2 separate regions of the Homo sapiens genome follow, and region 2 is linked to region 1. The links are contacts of gene promoters, found by promoter capture Hi-C in human tissues and cell types (Jung and others, 2019). All regions are on one chromosome and are shown on one strand. Each heading gives the region's core, a stretch centred on a gene start or on the middle of the fragment in contact. The rest is flanking DNA. Distances are from core to core; before and after follow the strand shown.

Region 1 (6,500 bases), core at 2,553-5,052:
ATCACCTGAGGTCAGGAGTTCGAGACCATCCTGGCCAACGCGGTGAAACCCCGTCTCTACTAAAAATATAAAAATTAGCTGGGCATGGTGGCGCATGCCTGTAATCCCAGCTACTCTGGAGGCTGGAGCCGGAGAATCACTTGAACCCGGGAGGCAGAGGTTGTAGTGAGCCAAGATTGGCACCATTGCACTCCAGCCTGGGCGACAAGAATAAGACTCTGTCTCAAAAATAAATAAATAAAAATAAATAAAAATTAAAAAAAAGATAACTAAATCCCACCTAAATGCTTCTATTTCCATTCAGCAAGGAGCTAAAGCAAGGCCGCATCCTGGCCTTCTCCATGAGCCCTTCAAGGGTGCAGGTTGAATCCGGGACTCTGTTCTTTGGTAACTCGGCCCCTTAGGATGATTCTGTTGATTACTACCAAGTACTCGGCAGCCTCCTCCTCTACGTCTCAGCCACAGGACGGTCACCCATACTGGCCTCTCGCTGAATCCTCACAGCAGCCTACGGGAAGTTCTCCCCCTCATGGACGGACACCAAACGGAACCCCGGGGGCTGCCTGGCCAAGGCCTAGGAGCCAAGACACGTGGACCCTTCTGCCCGACTGCTCCAAGCCGCCCCTCCCAGGAAGCTTCTGACTCCATCCTGTCCCTGGGGCTGGTCCCCGTGTATCCCAACCGGGATTGCACAGCCAGTGCACCCAGGGAGAATGAGCTGGGTGGGACACAGAGGCTCCCTGCAGCAAAAGAGGAGTCCCGAGAGCGAGAGGGAGCAAAGAGAAACATCAGGGGCAGAGAGAGAACAAGGAAAATGGCCTGGAGCCACTTTAAAACGCAAGTTCTTCATGCCTTACACTGCTTTAAAAAGTTTTAAACTCAGGAAGTGGGCCCTACGTGACAGAGAAAGACTCGGCCTGGGGAGAAAATTCACTACACGGTGTGGCTGACATCTGTCCTAATTCTGTAGTTTTAGCCACTCACATCTGATAGAATAACAGTAACAATCACAACACCGCTAAGGATGATCCCCATCCCATTACTGCCTGCGGTAAGTATTCACCACCAGCTTGGCGCAGGGCTGACTGCATGGCGAATTTGGTTAGCTTGAGTGATTCTCACAATAAGCCATGGGGAAGGGGTTCTTGCCAGCCCCAGTTTGCAGATGTGTAAACTGAGGGTCAGAGCAGTAAAGGGACTTGCCTAGGGCCACATCCTGGAGAGTGGCAGAACCTGGCCTCCCGCCCAGATCTGCCTAAGAAGGCATGAGGCTCTTCCAACCAGGAAGCCAGGACTGCGACAGGGAGGGCAGGGTTGTCTCAGGTCCCAGTCTCAGGCCTAGCTCCAGCCACATCACCCACACCTACTCAGGGTCACCAGATGGAGAACAAGTCTTAGACAAGACATCGGAAGCCCATGTGCACAGATGGGGAAGCTGAGGCTTGGAGTCTGTACCTTGGGTCAGGCCTGTGGCCTCCCCACCACACGTTGCACCAACCACATTAGCATCCAGTCCCGTGAGTGCTCATGTCTTTCCAAGTTCAGAAGAACCCACTGGCTTCCTTACCCCTTCCAGGGAAGAAACTAGGCTTAGCCCAAAACCCCGAGGAAAACTTTTGTTTCTACAACTGTCCCGATGCCTTCAAAGCCCGAGGAGGTTTCTGGGCTTAAGCGTTCTTAGAAAAGGTCCTCACTGCATAACTAAGAATCATGTTTCCCTGCTTAGAACAGAAAGGCAGCACCCCCTCCCCCGAACTGGATTACTAGCTGCTCTTGAGACACAAAGGGGTTGGCACAGAAATCAGGCTGGTGGAGAGGGCCGGTGAGAGCCTCTAGATGTGCCCCCCATGTACCTCTTTGGGACAGTCACTGTCACACGCTGGACTTAAGGGTTACTGTGATCCTCATGTTTCCTTTAGAACTTTGGAGTCATTAAGTAGAGAAGCCACCAGACTTGGTGTCCCGCCATCCTCCACCCCTCTCATTTACAGGTGGCCCATGAGATTCTTAAATCTGTGATAAGTTCCAGCTCCTGGGGAAATTCTCCTCTTTTCCCCACTTGCAAAACGGGGACGTGAAGCTGCACAGGGTAGACACTGAGAGAGGCTCTGGGAGTGTCAGCGGCCAGTCACGGGGCCACAGGGTAGACACTGAGAGAGGTTCTGGGAGTGTCAGCGGCCAGTCACGGGGCCGCATGGGTGGGCTGCCCGCCGGGGCCTGCCTAGCTCTCTCCAAAGGGTCCTTACGCTCAGAAACAGCTATTTTCACCATCCCTGTCTTAGGGTGAACCTTCAGATTAAGTCACTCTCCCAACTCTGCCTAAATGCAGCTCTTTTCACCCTGGGGACGGCCTTCTCTGGGGTCAGGAAGCAGGCCAGGAAAGGAGCCCCAGGGTCCCAGGGTCCTCACCGGGACCCCCAATACCCTAGGCACACTCTGGAGACCGGGCTTTGGGGCTGCAGAGGAGAGGCTCCTCTTTGCTGTTCCTGTTAGGGCCTCGCCAGAGGGACACTGGACTTGTCTGCATAAAGCGGTCTTCTGCCTTGGAGACAGAAAGCGATACACTGTGAAGAAATCGGGCTTCTAAAACTAACTGTGCTCTCAAACACAGTGCCGTTTGGAACGGGGAAGCACTCCCCCAGCTCCTGGCATACACTGGTAAAAGCCAGAAAGATAATTGAGGCCCAATCGCAAAGCCCTGAACACACCGGTCTGGGAGTTGCAGAGTGCCTGAATGTCTGCCATGGGCCCGCACAGGGCCAGAGGCCTGGAGGGCAGCCCTGCAGCCTCTCTGGTGACCCCTGATGGCACAGACACTCCTCAGGCGGACGGCACACTTGCTCTGCCAGGAAACACTGGGAGTAATGTCTCTCTGCTTTCTCGGCATCTTGCAGGGAAGGACACAGGAACCCGGGGGGAACAGTGGCAGGGTAGATTGCAGGACCGTGACTCCAATCTGGATCCACAGGCAAACTTTTCAGGGAGCCACCGGGCCAATGAGGCCACCTGCATACCTGCCTAAAGCTTCCCTCTGGCCTCCGTCCTGTCTTCATGGTATCTCCACCTTCCCCCTATCCGCGGCCCCCCACCAGGCCTCCAAGCTCGGCCATCCCTAGCAGTTCCCAGAGCTGGCTCTCGGCCGTACTCACATGCCCTGCTCGCCGTACTGGTTGTAGAACTCCATGTGGCTGCACGCCTGGATCCAGCCAACTACCCAAGTCTCCTTCTTGGGGATGGGCGGCATGACCACCTGGGCCGAGGCCCGGAAGTGGGGTGTCCGGTAGCGGAGCACCACGCTGGAGGACTCATCGATGCTAGTGGGGACGGGGTCGATGGAGGCTTTCACATCAATCACCGTGATCCCTTCCCGGAAGACTCTGGCTTTGCCTCCGATGCTCTGAATACAGCCCATGGCATACAGGAGCGCTCTGATCTCCAGGGAAGGCCAGCAGTCACAGAAAAAACCAGGCATTGAAAGGACAGAGGCTGCAGGACCCAGTACAGACGGCGCTGCTCTCCAATCTCAACTCTCAAGACCGATATCCATAGGATAGAAAACTCACTGAGTAGACTGGGGTTGCATATATCACTACCGCGGCCTGTTTATAAATAAGGATTCTGCTGCATTTCATGAGCCCTGGGCTCTCTCTTCTTCTCCTCGCAGTGGACAAAAATCACCGATATTCTTTGGGTTAAAAAAAGTTTGTAGTTTAATGAATAATTATGCGGTTCTGACATCCAGCCCTTCTGTGCCTCACACGCGGGGACGGCAGCTCGCAGACTCTCCCTGAAGTCTTCGGAGGAAGCAGGCGAGCGCCGGCAGACTCATAAATAAGGAAGGCTCTGTCCCCGCGCGGCCGCGCCACCCTCGCGGCAGAAGCCTGACTTCCTGCCCTCCGGCCTTCCGCACGCGCTCCCTCCGGGCCCCGCACCCGCACCCGCCCGGCGCGGTCGAATCAATTGCAGAGCAGTTTGTGTTCACCCGGCCGAGGTCCCGGCGCCCTCGGGGCGAGCGCCGACCCGCGGCTTCCAGGAGGCGAGCTCAGGGCTCCGGCCGCTCGCCGGTGACGGGGGAGCGCGGCGCGGGTCCCCGTCGGCGCCCACTCGCGGGCGCGGGCCGGACGTCCCCACGCAGGGGCGCCGCGTCCCTTCGCCGCTGTCGCTGCCGGCCGCCGTGCAGGGTCCCGGGGCTGCGCTCCGGCCGCCGCCGCCTGCTTCGCCGCGGCCGCCGAGGACCTGGTGGGAGGTGGAAGGGACAGCGCGTCAAGGCCAGCCTCAAAGTTAAGCCGAACTTTGCTGCGGGGGGCGCGCGGGGGCGGCGACGCGTGTGCGCTGGGCGCGGGCTGCGGAGCTGACGGCGCAGCTCTGGGCGGTCTCCCCGGAGGCGGTGGCCCCCGCCCCCCGCGCCCGCCCCGTCAGTGGCGGCCGCACGACCGCGCGCACCAGCGAATAATAGCCGCCCGTGACATCTCCGCTGATACCGTCCCGGACGGGCGGGGTGGGGGGCGAGCGGCTGCCGCTGCAGGGGGCGGCGAGCACTTGCCCTGCTCTGTCCCCACCGCCGCGCCGCCAGCGCCAGGTGCCCCTTCCCCACCCCGGTCCCTCCGGCTCCCTGGGCGCAGGGCCACCCACCAGTGCCGTCGGATCCGGCGGGCACCCCTTTCCCGGCTGGGGTCCCTCGGCCCTCGGAGGGCATAGTGCCCCCGCTCCGCCGCGTCAAGCGCCTCTGTCGCCCCTCTCCAGCCGCGAGCAGCCCCGGGTCCCCACGCGTCGGGCGCGCTCGCCGCTGCCGGGGAACTTTGGCGCGCACGCCCCCACTCGGGCGGCGCCGCCGACTCACCTGCCCCGGGGGCCACTCCGCTGGCCCGGGCAGCCGCTCTCCGGACGCCCCTGACCCGGCCGCGGGCACGTTCTTGGGGCGCCCCCACCCCCTTCCCCGGGCACTGTCCCTTGGCTCTACTGGAGTCTGGGGCCGGCGTGGGCGCCCCCGGCCCCCACCCTCCTCCCGGCTTGGGGCTTCGGGGGGGCGGCCGGGGGCGGAGGGCTGAGGCTCGGGGCTCTCTCGCCCCCACCCCGCGCGCCTCCTTTATTTTATGATCATTGTGAGCGCGCTGTCGCCGCTCAGCCCCGCCGCCGCGCCGCTGCCGCCTGGCGCGCCCCGCGCTGCCTCGCTCTGCTGCAGCATCGGAAAGGCAACCGGGTCAAACTTTGCAGAAACTCGGCCCCTGCGCCGGCCCGGCCCCCGCGTCCGCTCGCCGCCGCCGCCGGCCGAGCGCAGCCGGCGCACGCAGGGACCGCCGCCCGCTCGCCGGCCCCGCGGGGATGCAGGTCCGCAGGCGGCGGCGGCGGCGGCGGGCGGGCGCCGCCTCCTCCTCCCCGCCCGCCTGGCTCTCCACCCTCGCTCCCCGCACACAGCCCGCCCTCCCCCTGGTAATCCCTCGCTCCCCCTCGCTCCCTGTCTCTGCAGCTGCTCGGGGAGCTGAGCCTCTCCTTGAACAAACGACATTTCCTTTTTGGCCAGCCCCGGGAATTCTGGGTAGTGTAGTTCCGCTGCTGTCTCGGGGCCAGGTGGGCTGCTCCCAGTGCCCTTTGAACTCTATGGACCAGAGGCTTTCTGGGGTTCGGAGCACCCGCAGAAGGGCTCCCTTGCCCTGGGGTTCCTGACCGCAGGGAGACAGTGGCTTGGTGGAGACAGCGCGGGGGCTTTGTAGGCTCCAAGGCTGGGAAGGTCGCGGGGAGGGGAGAGCAGTTTGGGGAGAGGTGGGTCCCCTCGAGCAGGTCTGCTGGCTGCCTGTTGGACCCCGGCTGTGTGATGAGCGCTGTACAGAGCATCATTTCAGCCACCATCGGCCTCCCTGTGGAGGGAGACTGATGATGTGCACTTCACAGAGCAGGCACCCAGAGCTGAGAGGCTAGGGGATTTGCCCAAGGTCCTTCCCCCCGTCCCCCCGCAGGGGTCCCAGTGCAGGGGCTCAAAAGGAGCATGAGGCTGTACAGCCATGGGAGAGCTATGAACCCCACCCCTACCTTCCAGCCAGCCGTAGGGAAAGCCCAAGCAATTTGTGACATAAGTACATCTGGCAGCTACATTAAAGCCACGCTCTTCGTCCCCACCCCATCCCCATGACTCTGACTTCCACAGGTGCCCACAGCCGGCACAGGGCAGGTGCTTCCAGCCAGTCCCAGAGCCGGAGCACGCTGAGTGTGTGAGGGCAGGGCTGGAGGGACCGAGGGGCTGGCCACTCTTGGATCTCTCCTTTGAGGGGTTAACAACCAGGACATCTCACAGCAGCACCGGCTCAGCCATGGAGCAGGAAGTGGCTGGCTAGGGTGGCCTCCGCCTCTCACCCAGCCACACCCTCACCCCAGCACTGCTATGGCCCGTATCCCCAGCTAATGAGGAGGTGGTCCCTTTCCAGTTCAGCTAGTAGGTGGCTTATTCCTAGTCCCACTGACTCGGGCCAAGGCAGGGCCACAGAGATGGCCCCCTTGGCCTGTTG
Region 2 (6,235 bases), core at 660-3,159, 580 kb before region 1:
TTTTCTTTAGAATTCAGTGAGATGGTGCCTGTAAAGTATTTAGCACAGAGCCTGATACCTAGAAGCATTCAATGAAGGTTAGCCCCAGAAAGCAAGCCAGTGGGGTTGGAACAGAGTGAGTGAGGGGGAGAGAAGGGGCAGATGTAAGCAGAGAGCTGAGGTGGGCGGGCGTGGGCCTGCCTTGTAGCCAGAGTAAGCATTTTGGCTTCTACTTTGTGTAATCTGGGAAGCACTGGAAGGGGTGGAGCAGAGGAGGGACTTGATCTGGACTTAAGCTCACTCTGGCTGCTGATGGGAGATTGAAGGGGGATAGGGCAAGCTTAGGGAGGTGGATTAGGGACCATACTCATGATCTGAAGTGATGGTGGCTTCAACTAAGGTGGGAGCAGTGGAAGGTGGAGGAGTGATTGGAATCTACACAGATTTTATTTTCCGAGTGTTTTTTTAAAATCATGAAAAGCTGTTGGGTTTTGTATTCTTTGGGCTTTACTGTGCATAGGACCCCGTCAACTGTGAATAGAAATAAGTTTACTTCTTCCTTTCCAATTTGGATGCCTTTTATTTCCTGCATATGTTTTAAGGGTAGAGCCAACAGGTTTTGCTACTGGACTTGTCCTGGAGCGTGAGAGAGAGAGAGGAATCAAGGAACTCTCCGAGGTTTTTGGCCTGAGCAACTGAGGGGATGGAGTCACCGTTGACTGAGATGGGGACAACTCATCCCCTATCTCGGTTTGCTATGGAGGACTGGAGGGGGCTGCGGGAAAGCTTAGTTTTGTGCTTGATACATTTGAAAATGCCTGTTAGTCATCTAGATGGCAGAGTTGGGTAGCTAGCAGTTGAGTAGGATTTGGAATTCAGGAGAGTGGCACAGTCACAGCACAGAGTGGTGTTTTAAAGGTATTAGATTGAGTGGCCGAAAAGTGAAGAGGTCTAAGGACTTAGCCTCAGCACTGAGTACGTCTCATTAGAATCGCGGGTAAGGAACTAGCAAAGGGGCTTGAGAGGAGCAGGCAGTGAGTAAGTGGAGGAGACGTGAGCAGACTTGTGTGGTTGGAGTCCTGGCTCAGATTTCCTTTCTCTTCCTTTGGCTGGTGCAGAACTCATCCATGTGCCACAGGAAAATAGTCCGTGTTTTTCATTGTCGTGTAATCGAACAAAATAGGGTTTTTGGGCTAAATGAACTACTTGGAATGGTGATATGTCTAAGGATAGTTAATGGAGACTTTATACGTGGAGGAATGTTTGAAGTTAGCAGTTTCTGAAAGTAAGTCCAGACAATATAGTTACATGAATTTGCTGAATGTGGCGCCTGTTCCAGGCTTTCACCCTGTTGAACCGACATCTCAAATGGTGTGTGGTCTTGTCAGAAAGTCTGCTCACAGATGGATGAACCCCTTGTGTTTTGTCTTTCAGATACATTGGTGAAGTAGGAGACATCGTAGTGGGACGAATCACAGAGGTAACGTCGATATCAGATTGGTGTTTACAAAGTCGAGGCAGGCTGGCGATTTCATTCATGGGACAGTCATTCCACTTGTAGTTACATGAAAAAGGCATTCATTGCATTTGGCCGTTGTGTGGCTTCTGATGTAAATATGTGGCTTGTTCGATTTCAGATTACTGGTTCATGTTTTTTTTTTTTTGAGATGGAGTCTCGCTCTGTCGCCCAGGCTGGAGTGCAGTGGCATGATCTTGGCTCACTGCAACCTCCACCTCCCAGGTTCAAGCGATTCTCCTGCCTCAGCCTCCCAAGTAGCTGGGATTACAGGCACCCGCCACCACGCCCAGCTAATTTTTGTATTTTTAGTAGAGATGGGGTTTCATTATATTGGTCAGGCTGGTCTCAAACTCCTGACCTCAAGTGATCCACCAGCTTCGGCCTCCCAAAGTGCTGGGATTACAGGCGTGAGCCACCACATCTGGCCTTACTGGTTATTTATGATATGACACATGAACATGGAGCATGTGTCCAGGTGTGGAACTTGGCTTATAGGTTCAACAGAAGAGGTGGAAGGTGGAGACCAACTCCAGGCTGGATTCGGTCTTGCTGCTCTCGTCCATGAACCTTCCTGGAGGAGAGCTGGTAAGGGCTACAGCTGGGGCCATGGACTAGGGCCCAGTGGGCTGGGGGGAGCCGTGGGACCCTTTGTTCCACCAGAGGACTTTGATTTACACTGAGGTTGCCCCTTTGACTCCTGTTTGTCTGCTGTGAAGTTTGCTGCCTAGATGTGTATGTAGACTTTTCACCCTGTCCAGGTCTCCCGAAAGAGGGAGCAGTTGGCATATGGTAGGATCAGAAACATCCATGGGGTGGGATCCCAACAGAGAGTTGGGGAGAGAAGCCCTTAGATGCTGGTTGTTAACAGTTTTCCTTTTTGGATATAACAGCCTTGCATAGTGAAGATGTTCCTTGAAAAGTTGTCTTTACATTAGGTTTTTGTGAATTGAAAGGCATTTCATTCAACCATGTGTGGAATGTGGTTGCTGGCATTCCAGACAACCACAGTAACTAAGCCACAGCCTTTTGTAAAATGCCATGGTTCACCTTGATCTTCAGTCCAGCGTGTATTTACAGAGAGGCTTACTGTGCCAAGCTCTGTGCCGAGTGCCAAGCACGATTGAGTTCCCCAGCAGGGGATATAAGATAACTGACCTAGTCCCTGGCAGTAGAAGAATAAATAAGCTGTGGTTATACAAAAGGAAATTTCAGTGAGAGAAGCTTGTAGGAAAGACAGGCATTGGAGTTGATCCTGGAAGGATGGAGAGACTTTGAATGACTAGTTCAGGGAATCTGAGATAAAGGGAAATGTATGAGCAGAGATATATCCAAGCAGGAGTTAGTCTGGTCCTGCTGGACCACAGAGGGCTGTCATGGAAGATGACTATGGAAATGTTGGCTAGGTGAGATTGGGAGGGGTCTGAATGTTCCTCAGAGAAGGGAGGGAAAGAGGAAGAGGAGCTGTGGAAAAGTCTTTTGAGATGGAAAGTCGTGATTATCACTGATTCCCCTCAAGTGGCTTGGGTTACCTACTCTTGCTATAGTTCTCAGTGCTTGAATATTGTGGTTGGCCTCAAACATCTCAAAAGGAAGTGAAAGAGAAGTGATGGAGACCTTTCTGAGGATCTGGCTTAAGTAATGTCATTTCTTTGTGTATTTCAGAGGAGAAGATCTGCAGAAGATGAGCTTGCAATGAGAGGTTTCTTACAGGAAGGGGACCTTATCAGTGTATCCTGCGCTTTGCACTCCAGCCTCTTGATGCTTTTCTGTGGGACTGGGAAATGGGCCTTCCATTGTATGTCTCTGACGGAAGAACCATGTCATCCTTGCAGGGATCCGAGTCTTAGACCAAGTGTCGGGCTCTGCTGCATCCTTTCTCAGTCTCCTTAATTCAGGCTGACTCCCCAGCTCTTGTTGGGACCTGCTGCTAAGTCATTTCTTTGGGTCTTGTAACTTACGGTGGCCTGTGCTTTAGACTAGGCTTTTGTTAATGGTGTTAACTTTTAGCGCAGGGAGTGGAGAAGGTGTTGTTCACGTCAAGATATTAATGACAGGCCGAGTGTGGTGACTCATGCCTGTAATCCCAGCGCTTTGGAAGGCCAAGGAGGGAGGACTGCTTGAGCCTAAGAGTTCAAGACCAGCCTGGGCAACATAGCAAGACCCCCCTCTCTACAAAAAAATTAAAAAAGAATTAGCCGGGCGTGGTGGCACATGCCTGTAGTCCTAGCTACTCAGGAGGCTGGGGCCAGAGGGTTGCTTGAGCCCAGGAGCTCAAGGCTACAGTAAGCTATGATCACACCACTGCATTCCAGCTTGGGTGACAGAACAAGACTCTGTCTCTATTTTATGTTATTTTTTAAATTTTTCTTTTTTTTTAATGACGGAGTCTTGCTCTGTTGCCCAGACTGGAGTGCAGTGGCGCGATCTCGGCTCACTGCAACGTCCGCCTCTTGGATTCAAGCAATTCTGCCTTAGCCTCCCAAATAGCTAGGATTACCGGCGTGCGTCATGCCTGGCTAATTTTTGTATTTTTAGTAGAGACAGGTTTCACCATATTGGCCAGGCTGGTCTCAAACTCCTGACCTCAGGTGATCTGCCCACCTCGGCCTCCCAAAGTGCTGGGATTACGGGCATGAGCCACCATGCCTGGCCTCTGTCTTTATTTTATTTATTTATTTATTTATTTATTTATTTATTTATTTATTTTTTTGAGACGGAGTTTCACTCTTGTTGCCCAGGCTGGAGTGCAATGGTGGGATCTCGGCTCACTGCAACCTCTGCCTCCCGGGTTCAAGCGATTCTCCTGCCTCAGCCTCCTGAGTAGCTGGGATTACAGGCATGCGCCACTATGCCCGACTAATTTTGTACTTTTAGTAGAGACGGGGTTTCTCCATGTTGGTCAGGCTGGTCTAGAACTCCTGACCTCAGGTGATCGACCTGCCTCAGCCTCCCAAAGTGCTGGGATTACAGGTGTGAGCCACCGCACCTGGCCTTCTGTCTGTATTTTTAAAAAAAAGATATTCATGACAACCAAGGGGAGAGGTAAGGTCACAGTGATGTGCTCTGGGTCAAAGATTGTTGAGCCTGGACCATTGGAGAGGGGAGGAAAAGATGGAGGTGTGGGGTCAAGGGGAGAGGCTGCAGAGGACAGGACAGTGTGTGGCCAAGGCTGCTGTTTGTTCCTTCATCACCCTGGCCAGGCTGAGGTCCAGGCAGTGTTCTCTGACGGAGCTGTCTCTTTGCACACGAGGAGCCTGAAATATGGAAAAGTAAGTCGGGCTCTTGATGTTCCTGTTTGCTGACTGAGACTACAAGGCTATTTTTGAATCCCCATAGCTCTCTGGAATTCTGGCCTAAAGAACCCCAGTAGCTAAGCATTAATAGAGGCTGGCATCCCACAAACTGATCGTGTTCCTTAAACGTAACATCAGGACGGTCAGGGTTCACAGGGTCATGGGTCAGTAGCCTTGTAAAGAACAAGTTTTATCCTTTTTCTCCAAGGAGACTGACTTTCACCAGAAGAGCCCCTCCAACTGTGGGCTGGGAGGTGCAGCTGTCTCTCTTCCTCCAGGGGGCGCTGCAGCTCAGCACTGGGGCTGAGGCTGTCCTGGGAACAAAGGCAGGCTGGGTCTGGTTAAACAGCCCTTAGACAAACGTCCAATCAGTCCAGTGGATGTTATTGCTGGCAAAGCTTGCTCTGTCATCTGAGCCTCTAAATGGAATTTCACTGCTTTTCTTGTACGAGGTTGCATTATTGAAGCTATTTACTATTTTAAGGAGAGCATACTTCCTAAAACAAATTAGGATTTACTAGTCTCTTAGCTTTATCTGGGTGAACGTTTTTATTTTCTGAGTGGAACAAAAACCTCTTCCCTTAATGGAGTGGCTGCAGACAGCCACGTTGATGTACATGGAGTAGGCAGAGGACTGCTGCAGTATGCTGACTTTCACAACCCTGGGTCCTGCGGACTCTTCCTTGGCAGGACGTGGACTTGAGCTGTCCTGCCAGGACCAGACATGGATTTGCACCCAGCTCCACCCATCTCCTTACCTACCCAGAGGCACACATCTCACAGGCAAGATGAGTGTTTGGGGTTCAGGTATGAGCTAGGGTCATGGAACAACGCAGTGCTCCTGGGCCAGCAGGAGGCTCCAGCTCACTTCCTCATTGGCTTCAGCTTCTCTAATGTCTGGCACATGAGTTCTGGCTTAGAGTGCAAGGAAGACTGCAAAGGGAAATGACAGAGAAGAGTATTGAAGGTCACCTTCTGCTGGGATGTATGAATAGCCTCTGAGTCCCAAAGCGTTCTCTGCAAAAATGTGTACTATGTGTATGCATGTAGGCGACAGCAATTATAAACAGGAAGGACACCAATTTGAATATACTTAGGATGTATATTCTGTAGTCTCCTTTTCATTCATCCCGCCAATCTTGCAGTGACCTAGCTTCGTGATATATTTCTTTAGCTAGGTCAGGGGGTTTTGGTCCAGGTTTCCCCCTCCCTGGTGAAACGGCAGAAGACCCACTTTCATGATTTGCCATGTGGTGCCTCAGTGATTCTCGGTAACAACGGCTTCATCTGGATTTACCCAACACCTGAGCACAAAGAAGAGGAAGCAGGGGGCTTCATTGCAAACCTGGAGGTGAGCAAACACTGTGGCCATTTTCAGTGGGATGGAGGGGGCTCAGTCTTTGCTGTGTTTTTGTGGCCAGTGAAGTTGGTTGTTTTTAGCTAT

What was found. The method cuts DNA at HindIII sites, captures the fragments that hold promoters and counts their contacts. A contact is called where the count stands out against the background at its distance.
Region 2: a contact is called between a fragment that was not itself captured here and the fragment with the promoter of FAM78A in region 1, in 2 of the 25 tissues and cell types used here (bladder and lymphoblastoid cells).

The regions. Positions count from the first base shown.
Region 1 is chr9:131,272,708-131,279,207 of GRCh38, forward strand. It overlaps FAM78A (family with sequence similarity 78 member A), which reads right to left and starts at 3,803. Exons shown (of 2, transcript NM_033387.4): 1 at 3,150-3,803. The coding sequence starts at 3,472. RefSeq lists enhancers at 713-782, 2,518-3,130, 2,543-2,592, 2,623-2,672, 2,833-3,332 and 4 more and a silencer at 3,973-5,152. The HindIII fragment of the contact is 9,704 bases long and covers 1,830-6,500 here.
Region 2 is chr9:130,696,169-130,702,403 of GRCh38, forward strand. It overlaps EXOSC2 (exosome component 2), which reads left to right. Exons shown (of 9, transcript NM_014285.7): 3 at 1,414-1,459; 4 at 1,994-2,083; 5 at 3,161-3,226; 6 at 4,699-4,767; 7 at 5,966-6,142. Among named protein-coding and RNA genes, the nearest start is that of EXOSC2, 5.5 kb to the left of the region's middle. RefSeq lists an enhancer at 3,055-3,164. The HindIII fragment of the contact is 4,089 bases long and covers 1-3,954 here.